2 separate regions of the Homo sapiens genome follow, and region 1 is linked to region 2. Evidence: promoter capture Hi-C in 16 types of primary human blood cells and fetal thymus (Javierre and others, 2016). All regions are on one chromosome and are shown on one strand. Each heading gives the region's core, a stretch centred on a gene start or on the middle of the fragment in contact. The rest is flanking DNA. Distances are from core to core; before and after follow the strand shown.

Region 1 (5,893 bases), core at 2,575-5,074, 550 kb before region 2:
CAGTGTGAGGCCTGGGAGTGCAGGCTGGGGAATGCCGTATGAACTAGGTTGACAGAACATGTTTTAATGAAATATGTGTGAGGCCCTATGATAGGGGAGGCATTGGTGAGTGGACATAGAAAGACTCATCCTCAAGGAGCTGACTTTTTTTTTTCCTTGAGACAGGGTCTTGCTTCGTTGTCCAGGCTGGGGTGCAGTGGCGCTATGCCCGCTCACTGCAACCTCTGCCTCCTGGGTTCAAGTGATTCTCCTGCCTCAGCCTCCCAGGTAGCTGGTATTACAGGTGTGCACCACCACGCCTGGCTAATTTTTGCATTTTCAGTAGAGATGAGGTTTCACCATGTTGGTCAGGCTGGTCTCAAACTCCTGACCTCAAATGATCCGCCTGGGCTGGGTGCGGTGGCTCACGCCTGTAATCCCAGCACTTTGGAAGGCCAAGGCGGGACGGATCATGAGGTCAGGAGATCGAGAGCATCTTGGCTAACACGGTGAAACCCCGTCTCTACTAAAAATACAAACAATTAACCGGTCATGGTGGTGATTGCCTGTAATCTCAGCTGAGGCAGGAGAATCACTTGAACCTGGGAGGCGGAGGTTGCAGTGAGCTGAGATCCTGCCACTGCACTCCAGCCTGAGCAACAGAGCAAGACTTTGTCTCAAAAAAAAAAAAAAAAAAAAAAAATCCGCCCACCTCAGCCTCCCAAAGTGCTGGGATTATAGGCGTGAGCCACCGCACCCGATGGAGCTGACATTCTTATGGGGAATTTAGACACTGTGAAGATTGAGCTCACAAATAAATGTGTGATTACAACAGTTAGGTGTTGAAGGGCAAGGAAATGAGTCTTTGTTTTTATTGGGGATCACGACCAAGGCTCTGAGACAGTGATGCTTTGATCATGATGTGAAGGCTGAGTGGGAGTTACTAGGGGAGAGGAGCATTCGGGGCAGAGGACCAGCTTGTGCAAAGGCCCTGGGGTGGCAGAAGGGAGCATTGCCCCTTTGGGGAACAGGGAGATGCCAGTGTGGCTAGAGATCAGAGGGCAAGGGGGACATAGGTGAGCCGAACCTCACTAGCCATGGTAAGGACCCATCCTGGGAGCCATGAGAAGCCTTTGAAAGTTTTCAGCAAGGAGTGAAGGGGTCAGATTTACCTCTCAGACTACTGGGGAACTACTGAAGTGTCTGAGTTAAAGAGTGACAGCCATGAAGCTAGTTTTTTTTTTTTTTTTTGCTTTTTTTTTTTGAGACGGAGTCTCACTCTATCGCCCAGGCTGGAGTGCAGTGACGCGATCTCGGCTCACTGCAACCTCCGCCTACCAGGTTCAAGCAATTCTCCTGCCTCAGCCTCCTGAGTAGCTGGGATTACAGGAGTGTACCACCATGCCCGGCTAATTTTTGTATTTTTAGTAGAGACGGGGTTTCACCATGTTGGCCAGGCTGGTCTTGAACTTATGACCTCAAATGATCCATGCGCCTCGGCCTCCGAAAGTGCTGGGATTACAGGTTTGACCCACCGCACCCGGCTCGAAGCTAGTATTTTTGAGAGGTTCTTGCGTGTTGTTCTAGGGCAGAGGTGCTTACCCTGGGGTCCATGGACTCAAAGGTAGATTTCACAGGGTTCATGAACCTGAATGGATTCAATTATTTTAATTAGCTTCTAGCTAAAATTCACTTATGAATTCCGCCCATTATGAATTAAGGCAACAAAGCACAGTGGTAATTGTAGTACACGGCTTTGTCCTCAGCGGAAATCATAGATATTCTCAGATTATATTACAGTAGCTGCAGATGTTGTGAAATGTTGTCTGGGCTCATCATTGCTTTGAAACTGTGGAGTTATTTTACCCTATTATTTAATGAGTTTACAAAGAATCACATGTTACTGTATCTTTTTTTTTTTTTTTGAGATGGAGTTTCGCTCCTGTTGCCCAGGCTGGAGTGCAATGGCACGATCTCGGCTCACTGCAACCTCCGCCTCCCGGGTTCAAGTGATTCTCCTGCCTCAGCCTCCCCAGTAGCTGGGATTACAGGCGCCTGCCACGACACCCAGCTAATTTTTGTATTTTTAGTAGAGACGGTGTTTCACCACGTTGGCCAGGCTGGTCTTGAACCCCTGACCTTATGTGATTCACCCACCTCGGCCTCCCAAAGTGTTGGGGTTACAGGCGTGAGCCACCGCACCCGGCCTGTTACTATATGTTATTTTGTTTAATGCTTTGATAACCATATTCCAAGGTAGTTGGATTCCTCTGCATTCCTGCATATTTTATTCATGAATTCATGATTCTGTGCAGTGTCCACAGGCTTCCTTAGAATGATTAGGGGCACAAGAAATATTGGGAACCCCCTGGTCTATTTTCATTGTAACTGGCAGAAGGGCTCAAATAAGACAAAAGAGAAATAATTGGCTCCCTAACAGAGAAGTCCATGGACACCCTACATTCAGATGTTTGAACGATGTCCTCAGGAGCCCATTTCTCTCCAACTCTGGCTTCTGCTGGCTTCTGAGTCACCTCCTTCTTAGGCAAGTCCTGCCCACACCATGCCCACGCTCAGGCTGTGATGACCTGGGCAGCTCTGGGCTTAACTAGCCCTTTCAGCCAGGAATCCAGTAGATAAACGGAGGACATCTTTCTGGATTGCTTTTGTGAAACTCTCAGAGATGAGGCTTATTGGCTGGCATGCCTGGGTCATGTGCCCATACTAAACTAATCACAGTGGTGAGGAACATGGAGTACTCTGATTGGCCTGCTTGGGTCATGTGGCAATCCTGAGCCAATTATATTGATGGGAAGAAGTATTCTGATTGGCCTGCTTGGGTCATGTGCTCATCCTGGAAGCAAGGTAGGCAGCGATTGCTGGGTGACTTGTTTATCTCGAAATCAGGCTGGATTAGGGTCTTAGTGGCAGGAGTGTCCAATCTTTCGGCTTCCCTGGGCCACATTGGAAGAAGAAGTGTTAGTGTGGAAGAAGTGAATTTAGTCTAACACTAAGGATAGTGTTTTAGCTTATAGCTGATGAGCTAAAAAAAAAAAAAAAAAAAATCACACACACGCAAATCTCATAATGTTTTAAGAAAGTTTATGAGTTTGCGTTGGGCCTCATTCAGAGCTGTCCTGGGCCGAATGCGGCTAGTCGTGGGTTGGACAAGCTTGGTCTAGACTTTCATGGTCTAAAGTTATGGCTCTCCTAATTCCTGCAGTGAGATAAGACCCCTGCAGAGAATGATGACAACCGGTGCTCATATAGTGCTTGTTGGGTGCCAGGGACTGCTGTAGTACTTTATACATATTTATCTTCACAGTCCATTCAGTCCTTTCAAGAACACTAGGAGGTGGGTCCTATTACTAACTTAATAGTGCTAAATATATACACGTACTATGTACCCTCACACACACACACACACAAATAGTGCTGACAAGGTCATTATCACGCAATTGGCAAATGGCAGCCCTAGAATCCCAGGCCCAGCTCTTCTCTATAACTATGTTGCTTTTCCTTGCCTGCTAGGGGACCTTAGGCGAGGGTTGCCCCTCCTGGGTGTCAGTGCTTCCATCCATAACACAAGAATTGGACTGACAGTTTTCGGGGGTTGGAGGTGGAGCTGGGAGGGGCGTCAGGGATGAGAGGTGTGGGGCATTGGGTCATAAGGCCTTTGCTAAGTCAGCCTGGCTTGGAGCTTCTCTGTTTCTTTTCCCAGGGCTGTTCCCGACACAGCAGTGCCCACAGAGGCCTACTGACTGCAGGAAGCAGTGTGAGCCTGACTACTACCTGGATGAGGCCGACCGCTGTACAGCCTGCGTGACTTGTTCTCGAGGTAAGGGCCTTGTTCTCTCTCCAGGGCCTCCTTCTAGGGAGCATGAGGGGTCCTCAGAGGAGAGGTGAAGAATCTGGAAGGTGGAGAGCATCATGATTTGATGTCTGTTCTCTGAATTGTCCTCCTGGTGCCTCAGTTTACCTCTCTGCATTTGTGATTTGATATCAGCCATGACCTTTTGCATCCATACTTTCACAGAGACTTAACATGTTTCCTGAAGGAGAGGACTCACATTTTTTTGAGTTTAATCCTCACCACAGCCCTAGGGGAGGATTTCTTGCTTATCCTTACTTTACAATGAGGAATTTGAGGATAGGGAGGTTAAGGGCCTTTCCAAAGTTACAAAACTCTGGTAAGTGGCAGAACTGGAGTTTGAGTTGTGGCCTGACACCAAGAGCTGTGTTCTTTTCCTAAGATCACAGGACTTCCAGGAAAACTGTTTCAGTATGACCTTTTATTGTTAGTCTCTTATTATGGTTAGAGAATGCAGTCTGTGTGCTATCTAGTGTTTATTTTTGTGTGGATTTTTTTGGGGGGTAGGGTGGGGGAAATTTGTTGAGATCTTTTTGTGGTCTAATAAATAATAAATGATCATGTATTTTCAGAGTGTTCAGTGTATGGGTGTTTTAAAATGTGTATTCTGTTTGTTGCGTATAAAGTTCTCTACATATCTATTAAGTTAAGCTTGTTAATTGTGTTATTTAAATAATGTGTACCCTTATTTACTTTTATCACCTTTATTTCTGAGAGATGTGTTAAAATCTTATCTCCCAGTATACTTGTTCATCTATTAGATTTTCATTGTGTTCTTTCTATTTTTGCTTCATATATGTCAAAGCTATGTTATTAGGTACATAAATGTTCATGAATGTTATGTTTTTTTGGTGGGTTGGGCTTTTTATCCACATGAATATACCTCTCCATTCCTTGTAATGCCTTTTCCCTTAATTTCACATTTGTTTGGCATTAATATTGCTATTCCTTCCTGGAAGAAGTAGCAAAGGTTAAAAAGAAAGAAAAGTAATAATAATATTGCCATTTCTTCTTTCTTTTTATTAGCATTTATCTGGTGTATCTTTGAATTTCTAAAAGTAATGACTGCATTTTATGAAATGAAAATTATAAACATTTATTATTTAAAATTCAAGCAATACAAAGAGTGTAAGGAAGAAAACAAACATTGCCCTCCCCAGCCCTCCATCTATAGATAACTACTATTATCATTAGATGGCTGACACGCCTCTACCTCTCTGTATAAAGATGGGTAGGTTAGTAACCAGACAGCCTGTACACACTTACAAAGAAGGAATTTTAAGAGAATGGCAACATATTTATGGCATTAAAATGATAATATTTAATTTTAGTCAAAAGTATCAGAAAAAGAAAGCGAAGTGAAACAGAAGAATGCCAAACCTCAGTCAGATTAATGTATCTTCAGCAAAAGATACTGCAATTCCTTTAAAAAAAAAAACCCTCTAAAATTAAGAAAGGAGGTTATGAAAATCAGTAAGTGGTTAATAATCATTTCAGAATCTACTATCTCTTGCAGTAAAGGCAAAATCTGCTTAGTTTGAGTTTTGGACAGTAGAGAATAGATTGACTCCCTGTAATGAAGAACAAAGTAATTATTTTTCCCACCTCCTCATCCTCTTCCTGACTTTTATTCCTTACACAAATTTTACTTTGTCATAATCTATAATGTTTATATTCTCATCTGCAACCATAAGTCCCTTGGCATGTTAGCCTTAACATTTTTTATTATTCATGATGAGTTTATTTGGCACAGCTTCTCTGTTCCTGAGTTTTTCACTTTGATTCATCATTTGAGTGATTGGATTACACTGTCAGGTGGATTTTTCAAGAAGGGCTCGTCTTTGCAATATTCTCTGTTATTTCATGTTTGAGGATGCTTGTCTGTTGCCTATATTTTTGTTTTCTTTTTTTTCTTTTTGAGACAGAGTCTGACTCTGTCGCCCAGGCTGGAGTGCAGTGGTGCAATCTCGGCTCACTACAACCTCTACCTCCTGGATTCGAGCGATTCTCCTGCCTCCTGAGTAGCTGAGATTACAGGGATGC
Region 2 (5,784 bases), core at 1,029-3,528:
CTCAGCCTCCCGAGTAGCTGGGACTACAGGTGCCCACCACCACGCCTGGCTAATATTTTGTATTTTTAGTAGAGACGGGGTTGCACCATGTTAGCCAGGATGGTCTTGATCTCCTGACCTTGCCCGCCTTGGCCTCTCAAAGTGCTGGGATTACAGGCCTGAGCCACTGTGCCAGATGCACTATTTTTTTAATTTTTATTTTCATAGAAATGGGGTTTCACCATGTTGCCCAGGCTGGTGTTGAACTCCTGAGCTCAAATGATTCACTGCTTTAGCCTCCCAAAGTGCTGGGATTACAGGCACGAGCCCCTGTGTTCTGACCTTCTTTATTTGTTTAATGATGTGGATAAGCTATTTCAGTAAAGTCTATTTCCTTTGCAGTGTGCAGCTTCTAATATCACACCTCAGGTGGTGCAGCCTTGGTCCTGTGTACAGTCACCCTAAGAATGCAGTGTTTTCCACAGGGCTGTCTTGACTTTCTCCTTCCCTGATCTCTCTGTTAAGCTCTGTGCCTCTGTTGGTCTCACACCCAACTATTAGCCTCCACTAACTGCAGGCTAATTGTCCTACTGTTTTCAAAAATGCTCTGGGGGCAGTAATTGCGCTATCTGCTTTTCCAGGCCAAGCTCCTCCCGTGTGTGCTATCTTCAGGGGTATCCATAAACATGCTTAAGAAACCAAAAATTACATTATTTGTCATGAGTTTTAAAAAGATAATTACACCTGGCCGGGCATGGTGGCTCACACCTGTAATCCCAGCACTTTGGGAGGCTGAGATGGGTGGATCACGAGGTCTGGAGATCGAGACCATCCTGGCTGACGTGGTGAAACCCCGTCTCTACTAAAAATACAAAAAAATTAGCCGGGCGTGGTGGGGGGCGCCTGTAGTCCCAGTTACTCCGGAGGCTGAGGCAGGAGAATGGCGTGAACCTGGGAGGCGGAGCTTGCAGTGAGCTGAGATCACACCACTGCACTCCAGCCTGGGTGACAGAGCGAGACTCCATCTCAAAAAAAAAAACAAAAAACAAACAAACAAACAACAACGACAAAAGATAATTACACCTAGCCAGAATAGTGAATCTTATAACCCTCTAAGAGAAACCTAAGTAAACTCTTACAAAGATACAATGACGTAAAAACACAAAAATCTGCCATGCATATACTCACTGGGGTAAAGCCTCTTCTATAACTTTTGTTTTCTGAAACAAACCAAACAAACAAACAAAAAACCAAAAACCTAAAACATAAATAATAGGAATGAAAAAGGGGGTCTGCCTTCTAGTTCCAAGCTCCTGCAGCACTCGGAGGTTAATAACTTTCCCTTCCAGTCCCCTTGGGTGGTTTCACTTCAGAGTGCCTCCAGTAAAACACCTCCCTGTGAATAAATGGCTTTCCCTAGCACCCAAGGGAGCAGATTTTCAGCAAATTTGTTGAGTGTGTGTGTCAAGAGGAAGACACCAGTGAGTCCCCCTGGTGTAGCAGTTGAGCAACTTCTTTGCCAGTTCAGCAAATTCACACTATGCCCTTTCCAACAAGAGCTGGGTCTCATCCCTATGGGTGGAAACGGGGTCTTTCTTGGGTGCTCTATTTAAGCCCTAAGGGTAGTGGTATTTTCTTATATGTATAGTTTCTATATTCTCCCTTTTTTTTTTTTTTTTTTTTTTTTTTGAGACAGAGTCTCGTTCTGTTGCCCAGGCTGGAGTGCAGTAGTGCGATCTCGGCTCACTGCAACCTCCAGCTCCCAGGTTCAAGCGATTCTCCAGCTTCAGCCTCCCGAGTAGCTGGGATTACAGGCATGTGCCACCATGCCCGGCTAATTTTTGTAGTTTTGGTAGAGAGGGGGTTTCACCCTGTTGGCCAGGCTGGTCTTGAACTCCTGGCCTCAAGTGATCCTCCCAGCTCAGCCTCCCAAAGTGCTGAGATTACAGGTGGGATTACCACCGTGCTCGGCCCAAATTAAAATTTCTAAAATTTTCAGGCTCAAAGCCTATTTCCTGAAATGGTTCCAATCATTTCTTTCTCTCTTAGAAGAAAGTAACGTGGATAAAAATTGTCCCCAAACCAGCCCTTGGCACCATTTTTAGAGGCGGAATATGAGGCTGGATAAAGCCCAGTTTTGCCTGCAATGGCATTCCTGTCTCCCGTCCCAGGACCCCAGAAGATTATGACTACCAGAAAACACGCCAGTCTTTGCCCTGATCTGGCCAGAGGCCCAGAGGGTACATAGGCGGTGACAGAGTGAGACCTTGTTTCAAAAAACAAAACAAAACTGGGGTTAGGGAAGCTAGCTAGGGAGCTGGGGTGAGACGTGCTGTGCTCACCCTAACCACACTCTGACAAGGAAAGCTGGCGAAGTCTCTTATCTTACAGTTGAAAGATCAGGCCCTGGAGGCCTATATAACCCATATGAGATCTCTTTCTAGGGTTCCCAGGAGCCGAGGTGCCCATCTGAGCCTGATCTTCCTGAAATCTTTGGGAAGCTCACCTTCCAAGACTCCCCATGATGAGCAGTATTGATTTTTCTGGGTCCCCACATTGCTTAGGGAAATAGGTTCCTCCACCTCCCATTGGCCTTTTTGTGCTTACCCTGAGAAGCTGTGTCAGGCCACTGTGTCAGGTGTCAGGCTTAGCCCAGAGAGAGTGAGGTGGAGGAGGCGGAGGGTGTAACCCAGCCAGGTCCTCTTCACATAAGCTATCAGACAAGCTCCTCAGGGCAGCAGCTCCTCAAGGCCCCAGGAACATGGCTGTCCCCTGGCTAGTGCTACTCTTGGCATTGCCCATCTTTTTCCTGGGGGTCTTTGTCTGGGCTGTCTTTGAGCACTTCCTCACCACGGATATCCCTGCTACCTTGCAGCATCCTGCCAAGTTGAGATTCCTGCATTGCATATTCCTCTACCTGGTCACTTTGGTGAGTTTACTCTCAGGCCACGTCGTAACCTGGGGGCTTCTTCTCTTGTTCTCAGTACCTTACCCTCTTTTCCCTCTTTCACTTCCCTTCTGTCTCTCTCTCTTCGGACTCCCTCAAGATAGACTTGTCTCTTCTGTATCTGCTATTCTGTTTGCCTCTCTCTTCCCTCCCTCCGTTCCTTCCCCCTTCCCATAGCCTGCCTGCCTTTCTTCCTCTCTCCCTCCCTTCCTTCCCTCCTTCTCTCCCTCCTTTCCTTTCTTTTTTCCTTCTTTCCTTCCCTCCTTCCCTCTCCTTCCTCCTTCCCTCATTCTCTCCCTTCCTCCCTATCTCCTTCATTCCCTCCCTCCCTTCCTTCCTTCCCTCCTTCTCCGCTCCTTTCCTTCCTTTTTCCTTCTTTCTTTCTCTCCCTCCCTCCTTCCTTCCTCCTTCCCTCCTTCCTTCATTCTCTCTCTTCCTATCTCCTTCCTTCCCTCCCTCCTTCCTTTCTTCTTTCCCTTCTTCCTTCCTCCCTATCTCCTTTCTTCCTTCCCTCCTCCCTCCCTCCCTCCCTCCCTCCCTTCCTTCCTTGTTTCCTTCCTACCTTCCTTCCTTCCCTCCTTTTGTTCCGTTCTTCCTTCCTCTCTCCTGCTCTCTCTAACTCCCTTCCTTTCTTCCTTTAGCATCAAACATTTACCGAGTGCCAATCACTGGGCTCTTTTCTGAGAATTCAAAAACAATTTCAGACCCAGTTCCTGCCTTCCCCGGGCTTGTGGCCTGACAGCCCCTGCCCCTCCTTCAGCCGCGCACACTTTCACCCTCAGTGCACTGACTTACCTATAGGTTGTTTCTATTTTATTTTACTTTTTTGAGACGGGGTCTTGCTCTGTTGCCCAGGCTGGAGTGCAGTGGTGCAATCATGGCTCAGTGCAGCCTCAACCTCCTGGGCTCAAGCGATCCTTTCCATCTCAGCCTCCCAAGTAGCTGGGACTACAGGTGCGCACCACCATGCCCGGCTAATTTTTGTACTTTTGGTAGAGACAGGGTTTCGCTATGTTGCCCAGGCTGGTCTAGAACTCCTGGGCTCAAGCAATCTGCCCGCCTTGGCCTCCCAAAGTGTAGGGATTGCAGGTGTGAGCCACTGCACCTAGCTTCACAGGTGTTTTTTTCCTTATTCATCTCTGTAAGCCCAGTCCCACTCACAGAGCCTGGTATCTGGTAGGTGCTTACTTTTGTTGGTATACATGAATTTACCCAGCATTTCTGAGTGGCCGTGCCAGCCAGGCTCTGAGCAGGGCTTGGGGATTGGGGGTTTGGGGTGGACCAGCATGCACCCAGAGTTGCAGTGGATTTGGAAACAGTGGTGTGACATCTTGTTTGTGGCAGGCAACCTGAGTTAACCCCAATGTCCCAACCCTAGGTGGAGACCTTATAGAAGCCAAACAGCTCCTACTGATTCCAGGGCAGCTGTGGAGGAGGATGAGGAGGCCACGCTTAACTGACAGCAGGGCTTAGGAATAAGGAACAGAGACAGCAGCCGGACTGCCTGAGTGTGTGTCCCAGCTCTGTCACTCACTCGCTGTGCGGTCCTGCACCATTTACTTAACCTCTCTGTGTCTCAGTTTCCTCATCTGGGAGGGTTAATATGTCTAGAGATGTTTAGTGAATTCGTAAAATACATCTCTGTGCTGCTGGAAGTGTTCCCCATGGGTTACAAAAACATTTTCTAAAAGATCACTTTTAGAGACACCGACAAGTTCAGTGTGCAGTGGCATCAATGCCACTGACGCAAGGAGACAGGACAAGGATGTAGAAAGTACTCGTGTCCTCTCATTTGGAGAATGCAATCAGCCTGGAATTAGGCAGTCTCAAGCCAGTGGCTGCAATCCACATGGAGTTACTAGTTGGGTTAGAGCCCCAGGATTTAAAACGAGGGCCTAAGATGTTCAGGTGGCCCAGAGAAATGGAGATTTTTCTGTCAGTGTTTCTCCTCAAAAGTAGCCCACAAGCTAAACATCTACTGATGACAGCTGCTATGGGCTGTTCACAGGGGACTCTGAGATGGGTCTGCAGCCGCTGAAAGGGTGGATTCAGCTTGTGGCGTCCTCTCTCGATCCCTCCGGCACTGGGGCCTCCCAGGGCACACTGCCCATCATGGGGTGATGATGATGAGGATGAGGACATACAGTAGTGAATGTTCATTCGGTTCCAGAGGACAGATAGACAACACAGGAACAAGAAGTTTAGGGAGGACAAGGAAAAAGCTAAAAAGAGTCTATGGCCAGGAAATCAAGAGCTTTGTTTCGGTATCAGACCACCCTCTGAGCCCTGAAGCCCTCACTTACTCGTTTTGTGGACTCATGTTTTTGTGCCTTTATTTTCTTCTCTGAAAAGTGAGGATTTTTTTTTTTTTTTTTTTCTGAGACAGGGTCTCACTCTGTCACCCAGGCAGGAGTGCAGTGGCGTGAACACGGCTCACTGCAGCCTCCACCTCCTGGGTTCAAGTGATCCTCCCACCTCAGCCTCCCATGTAGCTCGGACCACAGGCGTGCACCTTCACATCACGCCTGGCTAATTTTTTGATATTTTGTACAGATGGGGTCTTGCTACGTTGCCAAGGCTGATCTTAAACTCCTGGATTCAAGCAATCCTCCTGCCTTGGCCTCCCAAAGTGCTAGGATTACAGGCATGAACCACTGTGCACGGCCCTGGGGAGGCTTTTTATAGGGTGACATGGGGATTAAATGAGAAAAGCACTGAAAATGCACAGCACCAGTGCTGGGTGCTTAGAAAGTCTCGATAAAAGTCAATTATTCATAGTATGCTTATCAAGTCCCTGAAGGCAAAGATGTAGCATTTCTTGAAATTATTATAGATTTAAAAGTTGCTATGAATGATTT

Evidence for each region. The method cuts DNA at HindIII sites, captures the fragments that hold promoters and counts their contacts. A CHiCAGO score of 5 or more calls a contact.
Region 1: a fragment that was not itself captured here is called in contact with the fragment with the promoter of AADACL4 in region 2 in 7 of 17 cell types (activated CD4 T cells, naive CD8 T cells, total B cells and 4 more); the score reaches 8.1 in activated CD4 T cells.

The regions. Positions count from the first base shown.
Region 1 is chr1:12,093,401-12,099,293 of GRCh38, forward strand. It overlaps TNFRSF8 (TNF receptor superfamily member 8), which reads left to right. Exons shown (of 15, transcript NM_001243.5): 3 at 3,701-3,817. Among named protein-coding and RNA genes, the nearest start is that of TNFRSF8, 33 kb to the left of the region's middle. The HindIII fragment of the contact is 1,350 bases long and covers 3,150-4,499 here.
Region 2 is chr1:12,641,807-12,647,590 of GRCh38, forward strand. It overlaps AADACL4 (arylacetamide deacetylase like 4), which reads left to right and starts at 2,279. Exons shown (of 4, transcript NM_001013630.2): 1 at 2,279-2,908. The coding sequence starts at 2,741. The HindIII fragment of the contact is 15,531 bases long and covers 1-5,784 here.